3 separate regions of the Homo sapiens genome follow, and all the other regions are linked to region 1. Evidence: promoter capture Hi-C in 16 types of primary human blood cells and fetal thymus (Javierre and others, 2016). All regions are on one chromosome and are shown on one strand. Each heading gives the region's core, a stretch centred on a gene start or on the middle of the fragment in contact. The rest is flanking DNA. Distances are from core to core; before and after follow the strand shown.

Region 1 (4,635 bases), core at 1,214-3,713:
GCCCGCCACCACGCCCGGCTAATTTTTTGTATTTTTAGTAGAGACGGGGTTTCACCCTGTAAGCCCGGATGGTCTCGATCTCCTGACTTCGTGATCCGCCCGCCTCAGCCTCCCAAAGTGCTGGGATTACAGGCGTGAGCCACCGCGCCCGGCCTAAAACTAAAATTTTTTTAAAGTAAATTAGAAACCATAAAACTACCCCGACAAAAAGCCTAATATTAATTATATTACTGCTTCATATTTTCTCCACCTGCTATTGAGGAAATAGCTCATTTTTTTCTAACCTTGTTAAAGCATGAATTTATCATGCTTTTTTCTTCTTTTTCTTTTTTCCCAGACAGAGTCTCGCTTTATCACCCAGACTGGAGTGTAGTGGCGCAATCACCCAGACTGGCGCAATCTCAGCTCACTGCAACCTCCCCCTCCTGGGTTAAAGCGATCCTCCTACCTCAGCCTCCTGAGTAGCTGGGATTACAGGCACGCGCCACGACGCCCGGCTAATTTTTGTATTTTTAGTAGAGACGGGGGTTTCACCATGTTGGCCAAATTGGTCTCGAACTCCTGACCTCAGGTGACCCGCCCGCCTCGGCCTCCCAAAGTGCTGGGATTACCCCTGAGCCGCCGGGTGGTGGGCCACCGCGCCCCGCCTAATTTTTTTTTCATAAGAAACACTGGGCCGGGCGCGGTGGCTCACGCCTGTAATCCCAGCACTTTGGGAGGCCGAGGCGGGTGGATCATGAGGTCAGGAGATCGAGACCATCCTGGCTAACAAGGTGAAACCCCGTCTCTACTAAAAATACAAAAAATTAGCCGGGCGCGGTGGCGGGCGCCTGTAGTCCCAGCTACTCGGGAGGCTGAGGCAGGAGAATGGCGTGAACCCGGGAAGCGGAGCTTGCAGTGAGCCGAGATTGCGCCACTGCAGTCCGCAGTCCGGCCTGGGCGACAGAGCGAGACTCCGTCTCAAAAAAAAAAAAAAAAAAAAAAAGAAACACTGGACTTTTTCTGGTGCCCAAAAACAAAACTGTCTTGTCATCGTTGAAGCCGAGTAAGATTAGTCAACAGGATAATCACTTTCGAAAGAGAAACTTTACAGTGACAGAAAAGTGAAAAGGAGTCCCCCTCATCAGGATGACACAACCTTAAAGTACAACCCGACAAACCTCCACCCACTTGAAACCCACTAACTGGAAACTCCAGACAAAAACTTATTTTCAAAACTGTTACAATTCAAAGACTCCAATGACAGTGCAGTGGAAAATTCACGGGGACTGTATAATTTTCACGGCCTTCTGCAGTGAGTGCCAAATCTGGTCAGGGCCCCATCTTTGACTCCCCTCATCACTTTCCCTTTCAAATATGACTTGAAACGCATCAGAACACACCAAGCCTCTCCAACTACAATGCTGCTACCCTTTTATTCACAAACGCCTCTGTCCTCATAAAGGACATAAATTACTTTTCAAAAAAGGCATGGCCCCGGGATACAAGCCCTTTCCAAGGCTAAGGGAGTTCCTACTCTTCTTGGTGCCGCCCAAGTTCACTTTATTACTTCATATCCCATCCAGACGCGCAGAGCTGCAATCTGACTCAGGGGGCCCAGCCCAGGGCTGGGGTATAACGGTTTTGAGGAACTAGTATCACAAGCTTCTTGGGAAGTGGCCAGATAAACTCACCAAGTTTTTGTTTTCCTTTTTTTTAAGTCTGGGTGGAACTTACTTTCACTAGGACGTGGGACGCCTTCCCTCCCTAATGGGTGCCAGAGGACAAGCTTTCCTTTATTTTAAACGAAGTCACTCAACCTACACCAAACTGAGAACACACAACCCTCCCTCTTTCTGGTCGCCGAAGACGTGGCCACTGCGCAGCGGGCCGTAGGTTTGGACCCCTCATGGCTCAGAGCCCCTCATCCGTTTCCCCCCTCCAGTCCAAAGCCCCCTTCGCCCGCGCCCGCCCTGGTCCTCCCGGCCGACACTCGCCCGGCTCCCGGGACAAAGCGGGGCTGAAGGAAGGTTTCTTCTGGGGTCCCCGACGACAGCGGGCGCGGGAAAGCGCCCCGGGCTCGGCGCGCACTCACCCGACAGCTCGTCCGGCTCCAGCCCGGTCTCCGTGTCCAGTCCGCAGATGACAAAGTAGTCGGCGAAGCGACTGGGCGCCGAGCCCCCTCCGCCGCCGCCGCCACTCATGGCGCCGGGGCCGAGACCGGCCGGGCAGTGCGGAGCGGCACCGAGCCCCCGCAACCCGGGCGCCCGCCCGTCCGCCCTCAGGCCGCCCCTCCCGCCGCCGCCGCTACCGCGGCTCGGGCCGCCGCCCCCGGCCCTGGCCCGGTCCCCTCGGCCGCCGCGGCTGCCGTGACGGGGCGGGGGGGCACCGGGCCGCCCCGCACCGCATCCTGGATGCCTTCCCCTCCGCGCCGCCGCCGCTGCAGCTAGCCGAGAGCGCCGCGGCCCGAGCGAGCCTGGAGAAGGGCGGAGAGCGCGTGGACAGCCCCCACCGTGACCCTCCTCCTACCGCGCCTGCGCAGGCGCCGTCTGGGAGGGGGCGGGCTCCTGGGGGAAAGGATGACGTGATGCTCTTCGGACCCCGCCGGCCGCAGCTTCCCGGGAGGTCGCCGCAGCGCAGCCGGTGACTGCTTGGTCGCCCGCAACTGCCACTCCCCCGGGATTGAGACTCCTTTAGGGAGGGCTGAGGAGGTGCGAGAAGAGTGGGCGCAGCCTGCAGAGCCGGGCATTTGGCCCATGCTCTGCCCCCAACCACCCACCCAGCAAGCAGAGGTCCAGAGATCTTAGCGCGGCCTTGCCATGAGGATGGGGTCTCACGACTGAGCTCGGAAGCTCACCTAATCCTAGCTGCAGCGTGTCAGCCTAGACCCCAGACAGGGCCTTCTCCCTGTCCTCTCTTTTGGCAGGGGCGGATGAGCCGGTTTTATATTTACCCTTATTTTACAGACGGGGAAACTGAGTCTCAGAAAGAAGCAAGGACTTATCCAAGGTTACGCTGAGTCTAAGAGACATAAGCCTGGTCTGGAATCCTGGGCTTGTGGTCAGCTCCCCGTTCCTCGCCGCTCCCACCTCCCAGCCTGCCCTTTTCCCACGCTCTCTCCTTTTTTCTCTGGAAGCCTCCAGAGGCGCCTGCCATTTGGGAGCTCCTCTTCCTCTTCACTCTGTGAAAACTCTCAGATCCACCCCTAAACCTGTTTTCCTGTAAGAGGATAGGGAGGAGGCGAAGGGAAACTTACCTATTGGTCCTTGTCCTAGGACCCTCCGATTTCCTTTCCCATAGAAGCTAGGCAGATGTGTCTTTGTTGGAAACTGGAGATCAGAGGCCAGAAAGGCAACACAGGTATAGTGGTCACTAGCATGGGCTCTAGAAAAAAATGCTCGGATTTCAATCCTGACGATCATTTACTTTTGACCTTGAGCAAGTTAATCTCTAAGTGCCTGGCGTCATGGTTTTTGAGACAATTACATAAGGTAAATGCAAGTACAGGTAAAACAATGAGAATACTGCCTGGAACATGGAAATCACTCAGTAAATATTACAGATTTTTTTTTTCAAGACGGAGTTCTGTCTTGTTGCCCAGGCTGGAGTGCAATGGCGTAATCTCGGCTCACTGCACCTCTGCCTCCCAGGTTCAAGTGATTCTCCTGCCTCAGCCACCCAAGTAGCTAGGATTACAGGCGCGCACCACCACACTCGGCTAATTTTTTGTATTCAGTAGAGACAGGGATTCACCGTGTTGGTCAGGCTGGTCTCGAACTCCTGACCTCAGGTGATCCGCCCTCCTCTGCCTCCTAAAGTGCTGGGATTACAGGCATGAGCCAATGAGCCCCCAGCCTGGATTATTATTATTGTTCCAGAAGGAAGTACTCTTACGGTTTGTTCTGGGAGGCTGCCACTAAGAGCTGTAGAAGGCAGCTGGCTTCCCCAAAGGCTGAGCCTAGGCTCTCTCCTAGGTTCTCCTGGGTACTTCTCTCAAATATTGTTTCCCTTGGGGAGGTTTACCTAGAGGTTATAGCCATTGTCTCTCGGAGCCATAGCACCTGTTCCTCCCTGTATCTAACCTGCCTGAACTAGGGGGAGAAAAGTGGGGAGGAGAAGGTTGCTTCAAAACGCCCATTCATGGTGATGCTCCACCCGTATCCTGCATGCTGGGGACACAGAGACAGTAGAGGGGGATTAGTGAGTTAAACAGTCACAGAGGCTGGGCGTGGTGGCTCACACCTGTAATCCCAGAACTTGGGGAGGCCAAGGCTGGCGGATCGCTTAAGGTCAGAAGTTCAAGACCAGCCTGACCAATATGGTGAAATCCCATCTCTACCAAAAATATAAAATTAGCAGGGTGTGGTGGCAGGCAACTTTAGTCCCAGCTCCTCAGGAGGCTGAGGCAGGAGAATCGCTTCAACTCAAGAGGCAGAGGTTGCAGTAAGCCGAGATCGTGCCACTGCACTCTAGCCTGGGCAACAGAATGAGGCTCTACCTCTAAATAAATAAATAAATAAATAAATAAATATGCCAGGCGTGGTGGCTGACACCTGTAATCCCAGCACTTTAGGTGGCCAAGGCAGGCAGATCACGAGGTCAGGAGATCAAGACCATCCTGGCCAACATGGTGAAACCCCATCTGTACTAAAATTA
Region 2 (4,635 bases), core at 837-3,336, 1.5 Mb after region 1:
TCAGATAAGGGGTCGTAGACTTGTATATCAGTTTGGAATGCTTTCATTGCACGTAACAAAAAACACATCCCAGTGCCTTAAACATAAGGGCTTTTAGTGTTTACTAAACCAGTTGTCAAAGGTCTCAAATTTGATAGGTCCTTGTCGTCAAACCTATGATTTTATATAATTCCGTCCTCCCTTCCTTAATGTGCAGCCTTTCTTCATCATGTCTGTCACCTTATAGTCACAAGATGGCTGCAGCATCTCCAGCTTCTCATTATTACATCGGTCTTATAAAGAGGGAGGAAAGAGAAAGGATAAAAAGGCTTTCTCTTAGAGAAGCCCTGTCTTATATTGAGAAGGAAGCTCTCCATCATGCTTCCCCTTATGTATAATTGTCCAAAACAGGGATACCTGGGTTTCTCAGCCTCAGTACTATTGATGTTTTGGGCTGGATAATTCTTTGTTGTGGGGAACTGTCCCTTCCATTATAGAATGTTTTAACAGCATCCCGGGCCTCTACCCACTAAATGCCGATAGCGTTCCTCCAATTGTGATAACCAAACATGACTTCATCCCCAGTTGAGAACCACTACCTTAGGCCAGAGGAAAAGATTATCTGGACTGGTGTAGATCAATCATGATTCATCCCCCGGGCCTGGGGAAGGGGGGAAGGGAACTTTCCTTCCTAAACTCAAAAGATTTTCACAGGCTACAAAATCTGGATTCTGTTAGCAGGATGTTACCAACCCAAATGGCTGTTGGGTAATCCACCAGTATCAGTCACACGAAGAAAACAGCTCGGATCAATAAAACCAAAGGTGGTAGAGGCCAGGCATGGTGGCTCTCACCTATAATCCCAACACTTTGGGAGATCAAAGTGGGAGGATTGTTTGAGCCCAGGAGGTCAAGGCTGCAGTGAGCTGTGTTCATGCCAGTGTACTCCATCCTGGGCAACACAGTGAGATCCTGTCTGAAAAAAATAAAAATTAATATAAATAAATAAAAACAAAGGTGGCTCTTTGTGGGAGAAGTAGGGGCAGGGACTAATAAAGTAGATGAGATAAGTCTCAAGCAAGAACTGAACAAGAAAATAAAAAGGGGAAAAAAGTGACACACAAAAAAATTAAGGATTAAAAGAGAGATTTAATTACAAATGCAATATAGATATTTAAAATCATAAGAAGCTTCTAATCCGTTTTAGTGTCTGATCTTAGGATTTATAACTTATTTCTTGTGACTAAAGAAAACTTCTTGAAAAGTGCTAATTTAGTATTGTTTTCACTCCACCTTGTTGCAATGTTTTCTTTTAGGCTGATTCCATTAAAAATGGTGTCCAGCTTCTTTCCAGAGCCTATACTATTGATCCTAGCAACCCTATGGTATTGAACCATTTGGCAAATCACTTTTTCTTCAAAAAGGTAGAAGTCATTTATTTTTAAATTCTGATTTTTGTTTTTCTGTACTGCAATTGATATTTTATTTCTTTTTTAAACTTGGAAAGAAATTTGAAAATGTCAGATTTTTTCCCCCCTCCAAATTATAGAGTTTGTTGTATTAGTTACCTGGGGGTACCTACATTTGTTTATTCATTTATTTGCTTAATATTTATTGACCCCTATATACTGTACCCAACACTGTGGTAGTGATGTGAAGATTAGTAAAACATGGTGTCTGTACTCAAGGAGTTCAATTTCATAGAAAGAGCAGCCATGTAAACAAATGTAAGTGTAAAAATAAAGGTATCTACTCATTTATGGTAGAGAAATGAGGAAGTGGTCAGATGGCTTAGGTGAATTTTCACCAAGGCTGCAGAGCTTTTGAACTAGGTTTTTAGGAAGAGGTCACTAGAGAGTTGAAAAGGGAAAGACACACAAATCTATGAAATAGTGTATAATATACTTATGGTAGGCAATGCTTTGGATTCAGATAGTGGAGCATTTTTGTAATACCAGAATTTGGACATGCTATGTAGGGAACAAGGAGTCACTGACATTTTTATTTTGCATGTTAATCATGTTGTATTTTTTAAGTTGCCACTAATTCTGTAGAAGCAGTGGTATTTTAGGTTTCTTAAAATACTAAATCTACTGGGAGTAGTGGCTCATGCCTGTAATCCCAGCATTTTGAGGGGCCTAGGTGGGAGGATTGCTTGAGCCCAGGAGTTCAGGACCAACACTGGCAACATAGTGAGACCTCATCTCTACAGAAATTTTTAAAAATTAGCTGGACATGGTGGCACATACCTGTAGTCTCAGTTACTCAGAAGGCTGAGGTGGGAGGATCACTTGAGCCTGGGAGGTCGAGGCTGCAGTGGTGAGCCATGATGGCGCCACTGCACTCCAGCCCATGCAACAGAGTGAGACCCTGTCTCAAAAAAAAAAAAAAGTGCGCTTTATGTATTTACTTATGTAATCTTCACAATAATTCTATGATGTAGGTAATCTTATTCCCATTTTGTGGGTGGATAAGTTGAGGAAGAGTTAATAGTCTAAAGTCAGTAATTCACTATGAAAGGGGAGTATGTTTCTACAGCCAGAGAGAGTAAAGCACTGTGGTTAATAGTTATGTGACCTTAGACTAACCACAGTGCTTTACTCTTTCTGGCTGTAGAAACATACTCCCCTTTCATAGTGAATTATTGATTAGGTTATAACTGTTATAGCACTGAAAGGCAACTATTTATGAAGAAGATGGAAATGTATCTTACAGGTAAACGAAGTGTTAGTCTAAGATAAAACAGCTATGCAAGCTAGTCTTATGAATTCACTCAGTTGACTTTCTGATCTTTGTTCAGGATTATAGTAAAGTCCAGCATCTGGCCCTCCATGCATTCCATAATACAGAAGTGGAAGCTATGCAAGCAGAGAGCTGCTATCAGCTAGCTAGATCATTCCATGTTCAGGTAATTTTATAACTTCTCTAAATGTCTAATCTTTTTACTTATAGTGTTTTAAGTCTTTCCAATACTTTTGTACATATTGGTCTTTTTTAATTTTCATTCTTTAGGAAGATTATGACCAAGCTTTTCAGTACTATTATCAAGCCACACAGTTTGCCTCATCCTCTTTTGTGCTCCCATTTTTTGGTTTGGGACAAATGTATATTTATCGAGGTGACAAAGAAAATGCATCTCAGTGCTTTGAGAAGGTTTTGAAAGCTTATCCTAATAATTACGAAACTATGAAAATTCTCGGCTCTCTCTATGCTGCCTCAGAAGATCAAGAAAAACGAGATATTGCCAAGGTACATCTTTTTTTTAAAGTCTTAGCTGTTTTCTGTTAGCTGTCCCAAAACTCCCATTTCTCATTTCCTGTTATTGCTAGTAGAAATATGATAGAAACAGTTTTGTTAGCTGAGCTTGTTCCAGTTTAGATAACAAACAATGGATTTATTAAACAGACTTACATAGCCCCCACTTTTTATTTTGACAACCTATAGATGGAATACTTCAGCTTAACAATCTCTTTTATCCCAGGGCCATTTGAAGAAGGTCACAGAACAGTATCCCGATGATGTTGAAGCTTGGATTGAATTGGCACAAATCTTAGAACAGACTGATATACAGGTATTTTAGTAATGTTTTTTAATCTCTCATATGATGTGTTTTTTGTAAGCCTGGTGTAGTGTCTCTCTTCCACTTACACCTTTTTCTGTCAATCATGAAAATACAGGGTGCCCTTTCAGCCTATGGAACAGCAACACGAATCCTTCAGGAGAAAGTGCAGGCCGATGTTCCTCCAGAGATTCTCAATAATGTGGGTGCCCTCCATTTTAGACTTGGAAACCTAGGGGAGGCTAAGGTAGGAAAATAGAAATATTTCCTTCTTTTATACTGAATCAAGTTGCATGCACACCTTTTTAAAAAGTGTATAAACTAAATCTTTTAACAGTGTGATTTTTCTTTCTCATAGAAATATTTTTTGGCGTCATTGGACCGTGCAAAAGCAGAAGCGGAACACGATGAGCATTACTATAACGCCATTTCCGTTACCACGTCATATAATCTCGCCAGGCTATATGAGGCGATGTGTGAATTCCATGAAGCAGAAAAACTGTATAAAAACATCTTACGCGAACATCCTAATTATGTTGACTGTAAGGATTTTAAACTTCTTTATGTAATGAAATCCGTTCATTCCCACAAGAGCAGCAAAAATTTAGCCTGAAAAAAATTTAGAATTGATAGTAAAAATTGTTTAAGGTTCTAATGTCCCCATTTCTCCAGGGCAAATTTGTGGCCTTAAAACAAAGGTGCAGCTTTACTTACATTTGTGCTAGAAATAAGCAACTAAAACCAATTGGACCGTATTTCAATGACTAGGTTATCTTCAGTGGGTCAGCTACCTTTGTTAGGCTTTTAACAACTCCTTGGCATATCTGATAATGCATTTACCTTTGAAACATCCTTCTTTGATTTCATATGAACATTCTTACAATGTTTATAATAGTGAGGAAGAAAAGTGCTTTTCCTTTAAACAATTATTGCTAAAATGTCCTAATTTGAGTTTCGCAACCTATACGTTATAAAATAAGGAAAGTTTTTAATTAAAAAATAATTTAGGCCTGGCATGGTGGCTCATGCCTGGAATCCCAGTACTTTGGGAGGCCACTGCAGCGGGATCGCTTGAGTCCAGGAGTTCAAGACCAACC
Region 3 (4,635 bases), core at 1,502-4,001, 1.0 Mb after region 1:
GTTTCAAACTTTCTATATAGGTAAAAGTTAAGGACAGTAAGCAGGTTATTGAACCTGTCTCAAAATTAAATTTGTATAGCAAACACACCATTTCTACCTTGAGTGTGTGTTTGGGGTGCAAAGAAAAGGCTTCATAGATGACGTAGAAAGTGTCCTGGCCAGGTGTGGTGGCTCACGCCTGTAATCGCAGCACTTTGGGAGGCCAAGTTGGGCGGATCATGAGGTCAGCAGATCGAGATCATCCTGGCTAACACGGTGAAACCCTGTCTCTACTAAAAATACAAAAAATTAGCCAGGAGTGGTGGCGGGCACCTGTAGTCCCAGCTACTCAGGAGGCTGAGGCAAAAGAATGGCGTGAACCCAGGAGGCAGAGCTTGCAGTGGGTCGAGATGGCACCACTGCACTCCAGCCTGGGCAACAGAGCAAGAGTCCATCTCAAAAAAAAAAAAAAAAAAAAAGGAAGTGTCCTGCAGTTGCGGTCCATGTGTGATGAGATGAATGGTTGAATCTTAACATTCATTTGAAGTACCCCTGACATTAGCAGCTACAGTATATATAGGTACTGTAAGAGTTTACAAGCTACTTTTACTTAGATCACATGTTTGATGAGCAGGACTGGCTACATAATATGTGGAGTCCAGTGCAAAATGAAAATGTAGGACTGCCTGTTCAGAAATGTTGGAGAATTTCAAAACAGCTTCAGCAGAGCATTCCACCAAGTGTGGGCTCTTCTGAGAGCAGGCCGTGTGCTACTGAACAGAGTGTATGTCAGTGAAGCTGGTGAACTTTAGGATGGAATGAGTATGTGTATGTGGGGAGGGGGTATAATAAATGTTATGGGGGGACTAGACTCTCTGCAGTCTCTCCAGAGTACCACCACCGTGCTGCTTCCTTTCTTGCACCTTTCTAATCTATCTACCACATTCCATAGCCAAAACGATTGTTTAAATAAATGTATATCAGATCATGTCTCTCCTGTCTTCAAACCTGTCAATAGTTTTCCATGTCACCATAAATAAAGTGCAAAATCTTCATGTCGGAAAGGGTCCTATTTACTCTGACCCTGATGACCTCTTTAATCTCATTTCAGGCCTCTTTTCTCTATCATTCTATGCATTCCTATCAAACAGGACTCCTTTCATTTTTTCTAATGTACCAAGTTCTTTCCCATCTCTGAGTGTTTGCACATGCTGTTTCCTCCATTTCGAATATTAGATCCCCCTAGTCTTGCTTTTTCTTCAGAATACTTAACACAGTTTATAATCATGTAAATACATAATTCTGATAAGGATTTGTTTATATCTGGCTACGTCACTAGGCTGTAAGCTCGTTGAGGGTAAGTTTGTTGATGACTGCATTGGTGATTACTGTATGTTGAGAACTTAGCACAGTGCTGGGTATATAATATATAATCAGTAAATATTTGTTGAAAGAATGAAAAAACTATCAATTCATTCAGGCTTATAAATCAGAATTGCTTCTTGGCTGAGCACAGTGGCTCATACCTGTAATCCTAGCACTTTGGTAGGCCAAGGCGAGTGGATCTCTTGAGATCAGGAGTTCAAGACCAGCGTGGGCAACATGATGAAACCACATCTCTATAAAAAGAAAAAAATATATATAAATATATATACATATATAAAATAATTGCTTCTTTCCAGGTGCTTCTAATCTGATATCACAGGATCCCTATCTGGAGACAAGTAGCATGATGGTTGCTTTCATTAACACCATTCTCTTTGGCTATGGATGATTCAAATGGCCTAATCATCTCTTTTATCATCCATTCATTAATGCCATTTATTGTGCCCTCTGTAGCAAATTTCTCTTGAAGTAATTTCATTTTGTCCTGTTACAGGTATTATTGTAACAAGCTTCTTTAGGTTTACTACTTTCTCTTCTCTCTCTCTCTTTTTTTTTTTTTTTCTTTGTAGGGATGGATTTTTGCCATGTTGCCAGGCTGGTCTTGAACTCCTGAGCTCAAGAGATCCACTTGCCTCAGCCTCCCAAAGTGCTAGGATTACAGGCACGAGCCACTGTACTGGACCATCTCTTCTCTTTCATTTGTTCTGCAGTAATTTACCTTATTTAAGCTTCAGGGAGGTTTGCCTTCTGGCTTTACCATGTACAAGAACTGACTGTTACTCTCTGCCTGTTTTGTACAGGAGCACAAAAATGAGGCAGCAAACGCATTACTTTTCTTTATGCTGATGCTCTGGAAAATATTATGCCCTAAAGAGGGAGGTTAACTGTCCTCCTTGCCCTTACCACTATAAACCAGACAGAAATTTAAAATATGGAAACAGTGTTTTTTATTCTGTGTCAGGGTTTTAAACTTGGTCAACCTCCCGGAACTGTATGCCTATTTTATACTTTAATCGGTTTATGTACATGTTCATTTTTCTGGAAAGGATCTATATTTTTATTAGGTCCTTAGAGAAGTCAGAGATCCCAAAAAAGTGCCCTGGGCTTTGTATCCTGCTTTACTTCTCCTTGTAAGTGATCAAATCCACAAGGCTGATTGTGTTCTTTCTCTAAATCACTTTGTGTTATGACTTCAGGATGCATCTTGAACTTTGTTTTCAAGTGAACTTTGTAAACAAGTCCTCAGCTTAAAAGACATTTTGAACTATATTAATAATAAATGCATCATAAAATTTCCTGTTTGATAAAGGAGGCATCTGAGATAATTATGCAATGCACTTAGCTACTCACATTTTAGTTATTCTTATTAATATCATTGATATTTATTATTTTTCAATGCTTCTCTGAAAGACCTGAGTATGGCCACTCTGGCTTTAAGAACTGTGTCCACAGTGCTAGCTGAGAAACCACTACCACATATTTTTTTAAACTCCAAACTTTACTAAGAATCAGGCTTGGATATAGGGCCTAAAAATCATTCAATTGGAATGTGAAGAAGTTGAAACACCATTACGCAAAAACCCTTTAGCATATGTGTATGTGTGTCTCCCTAATGTCAGGATGTACACATTTATTACAGTGGTTTGGAGGTTTATTTGTAATCTGACCTTTTGAAATTCTGGAGCACACAAAAAAAGTAGATCTTCATTAACAAGGATTTTTTTTTCTTTTTCTTTTCTCTTTTCTTGCCAGAAATTTAAAGATGTTTCTTCCTTCACTTCCTTCCTTCCTTGTACTGTCCTTGCTCAACGTGAATCTACAATCACTGCCACTTGAATGGATGCAACTTATGTTAATAAATTGCCAGGATCAGAACTCCCACTGCAGCATTTCCTTCTCCATAGAACCACTGAACCAGAAATGCATTCTAGTGATTTTTTTTTGTCGTTAACGATGATTAATTAAACAAACTCGAGATTTCACGAGAAAAAACATAGATGCCCAGATTTAACAAACTCCTTATCTTTTTTCGACTTAAACCCACGAAGCTTTGGGGAGCACTCTAGCCCCTGCTACTCACCCATGCAAGCGGGGTGCGCGCTCGCGCACACACTCACTCACTCCAAGATAGGGGCTTTCTAGGAAAATACTTTGAGCTGCCAATCCAAGATTTTACTTAAAGAATTGACTTGGTTCTCAAGTGACAGATCTCTAAGTGCCAGAGCGGCAAAGTGCACCAGGCTGATAAAGTGCATGCCAAGACTCTCAGGTGGGAATTCTTGTCACAGCCAAGAGGTTGCTGGCATAGGCACCCGAGGCTGGCAGAGCCTAGCCTCTGAGTCTCCCTACACTCCTGGGCTTGCTTTCCTTTTTGAAGCTGCCTGCAGCTCAAAGAGGAGTTTGAACCAAGGGCACTTGCTTCGCGATCCTCCTGGCAGAGCCACAGCTCAAGTTTCCCCCACGGAATCACGAGCTTTTGTAAAGGGCAGCGAGGAGGCAGCGAGGTGGCAGCGAGGTACAGTCGCAGAGTTCTCTGGAGAACGAACACCCCCGCCGCGCCCCACCCCCCAGGACTGGTGGAGACTGGAAGGAACGAGTCCAGACCACGGGACCTTCCCTGGCCGTGGGCCGACGCCTAGCTGTCCTTGACCTCCCCAGCAGTCGGAGGCGCGCGCGGGAGAAATGAAAGTAAAACCTGTCCTGGCGCGGAACCAAGTGGAAGCTGGCGACAAGTAGGTCGCATCCTCAGAGCGACTGATAGCCAGTCCTGGATCTGCGCGAAGAGCTTGACTCGCAGAGGATAAAGTGAAAGGAAAAGGAAATGGGAGACAAGGGAGAAGAACAATAGTTAGGCTGGGGAGGCTCCTGGTCACCGAGCAGGCGTTCAGTAATAGCTGCTGTCTGCGGTGCAGACGGACTAGTCGCCCGGCCAGGCCACTTCGGTGACTGCCCTGCGCCCAGCCGGGCGGCCGGATCCAGACCAGTGCGCCGCGCTGCACTCCTCTAACCCTCCGCGTCCCAACCCCTTACCAGGGCCAGGGTCAGGGCCCGGAATCTGTCCTCCGTCCTCAGATGGAATTCAGGTCCGCTCAGGTGACTCCTTCCAGGAAGAGTCCTTAAATAACTTCCGCGCGGCCATTTCTTCCCCAGGTGCAATGTCCACTGTTGAGTCCCGAGAGTGAAAAGGCAGCTAAGCCAGCAGTGCGCGGCCCAGACAGACCACTCTGGGCAAGGTCCGCGCGACCCACTGCCCAGCCGCCTTTGCACCGG

Evidence for each region. The method cuts DNA at HindIII sites, captures the fragments that hold promoters and counts their contacts. A CHiCAGO score of 5 or more calls a contact.
Region 2: a contact is called between a fragment that was not itself captured here and the fragment with the promoter of DENND5A in region 1, in 1 of 17 cell types (neutrophils). The highest score is 5.0, in neutrophils.
Region 3: a fragment that was not itself captured here is called in contact with the fragment with the promoter of DENND5A in region 1 in 1 of 17 cell types (activated CD4 T cells); the score reaches 5.2 in activated CD4 T cells.

What each region holds. Positions count from the first base shown.
Region 1 is chr11:9,262,887-9,267,521 of GRCh38, forward strand. It overlaps DENND5A (DENN domain containing 5A), which reads right to left and starts at 2,464. Exons shown (of 23, transcript NM_015213.4): 1 at 2,075-2,464. The coding sequence starts at 2,183. RefSeq lists enhancers at 996-1,335, 1,496-1,615, 2,696-2,765 and silencers at 1,906-2,265, 2,316-2,415. The HindIII fragment of the contact is 8,855 bases long and covers 1,767-4,635 here.
Region 2 is chr11:10,760,652-10,765,286 of GRCh38, forward strand. CTR9 (CTR9 component of Paf1/RNA polymerase II complex) reads left to right here. Exons shown (of 25, transcript NM_014633.5): 7 at 1,296-1,403; 8 at 2,780-2,887; 9 at 2,992-3,228; 10 at 3,461-3,550; 11 at 3,657-3,785; 12 at 3,897-4,080. Among named protein-coding and RNA genes, the nearest start is that of CTR9, 12 kb to the left of the region's middle. RefSeq lists enhancers at 1,690-1,739, 3,135-4,334. The HindIII fragment of the contact is 1,838 bases long and covers 1,168-3,005 here.
Region 3 is chr11:10,298,901-10,303,535 of GRCh38, forward strand. It overlaps a transcript of SBF2 not described here. Among named protein-coding and RNA genes, the nearest start is that of ADM, 3.9 kb to the right of the region's middle. RefSeq lists enhancers at 3,881-3,960, 3,981-4,160. The HindIII fragment of the contact is 1,320 bases long and covers 2,092-3,411 here.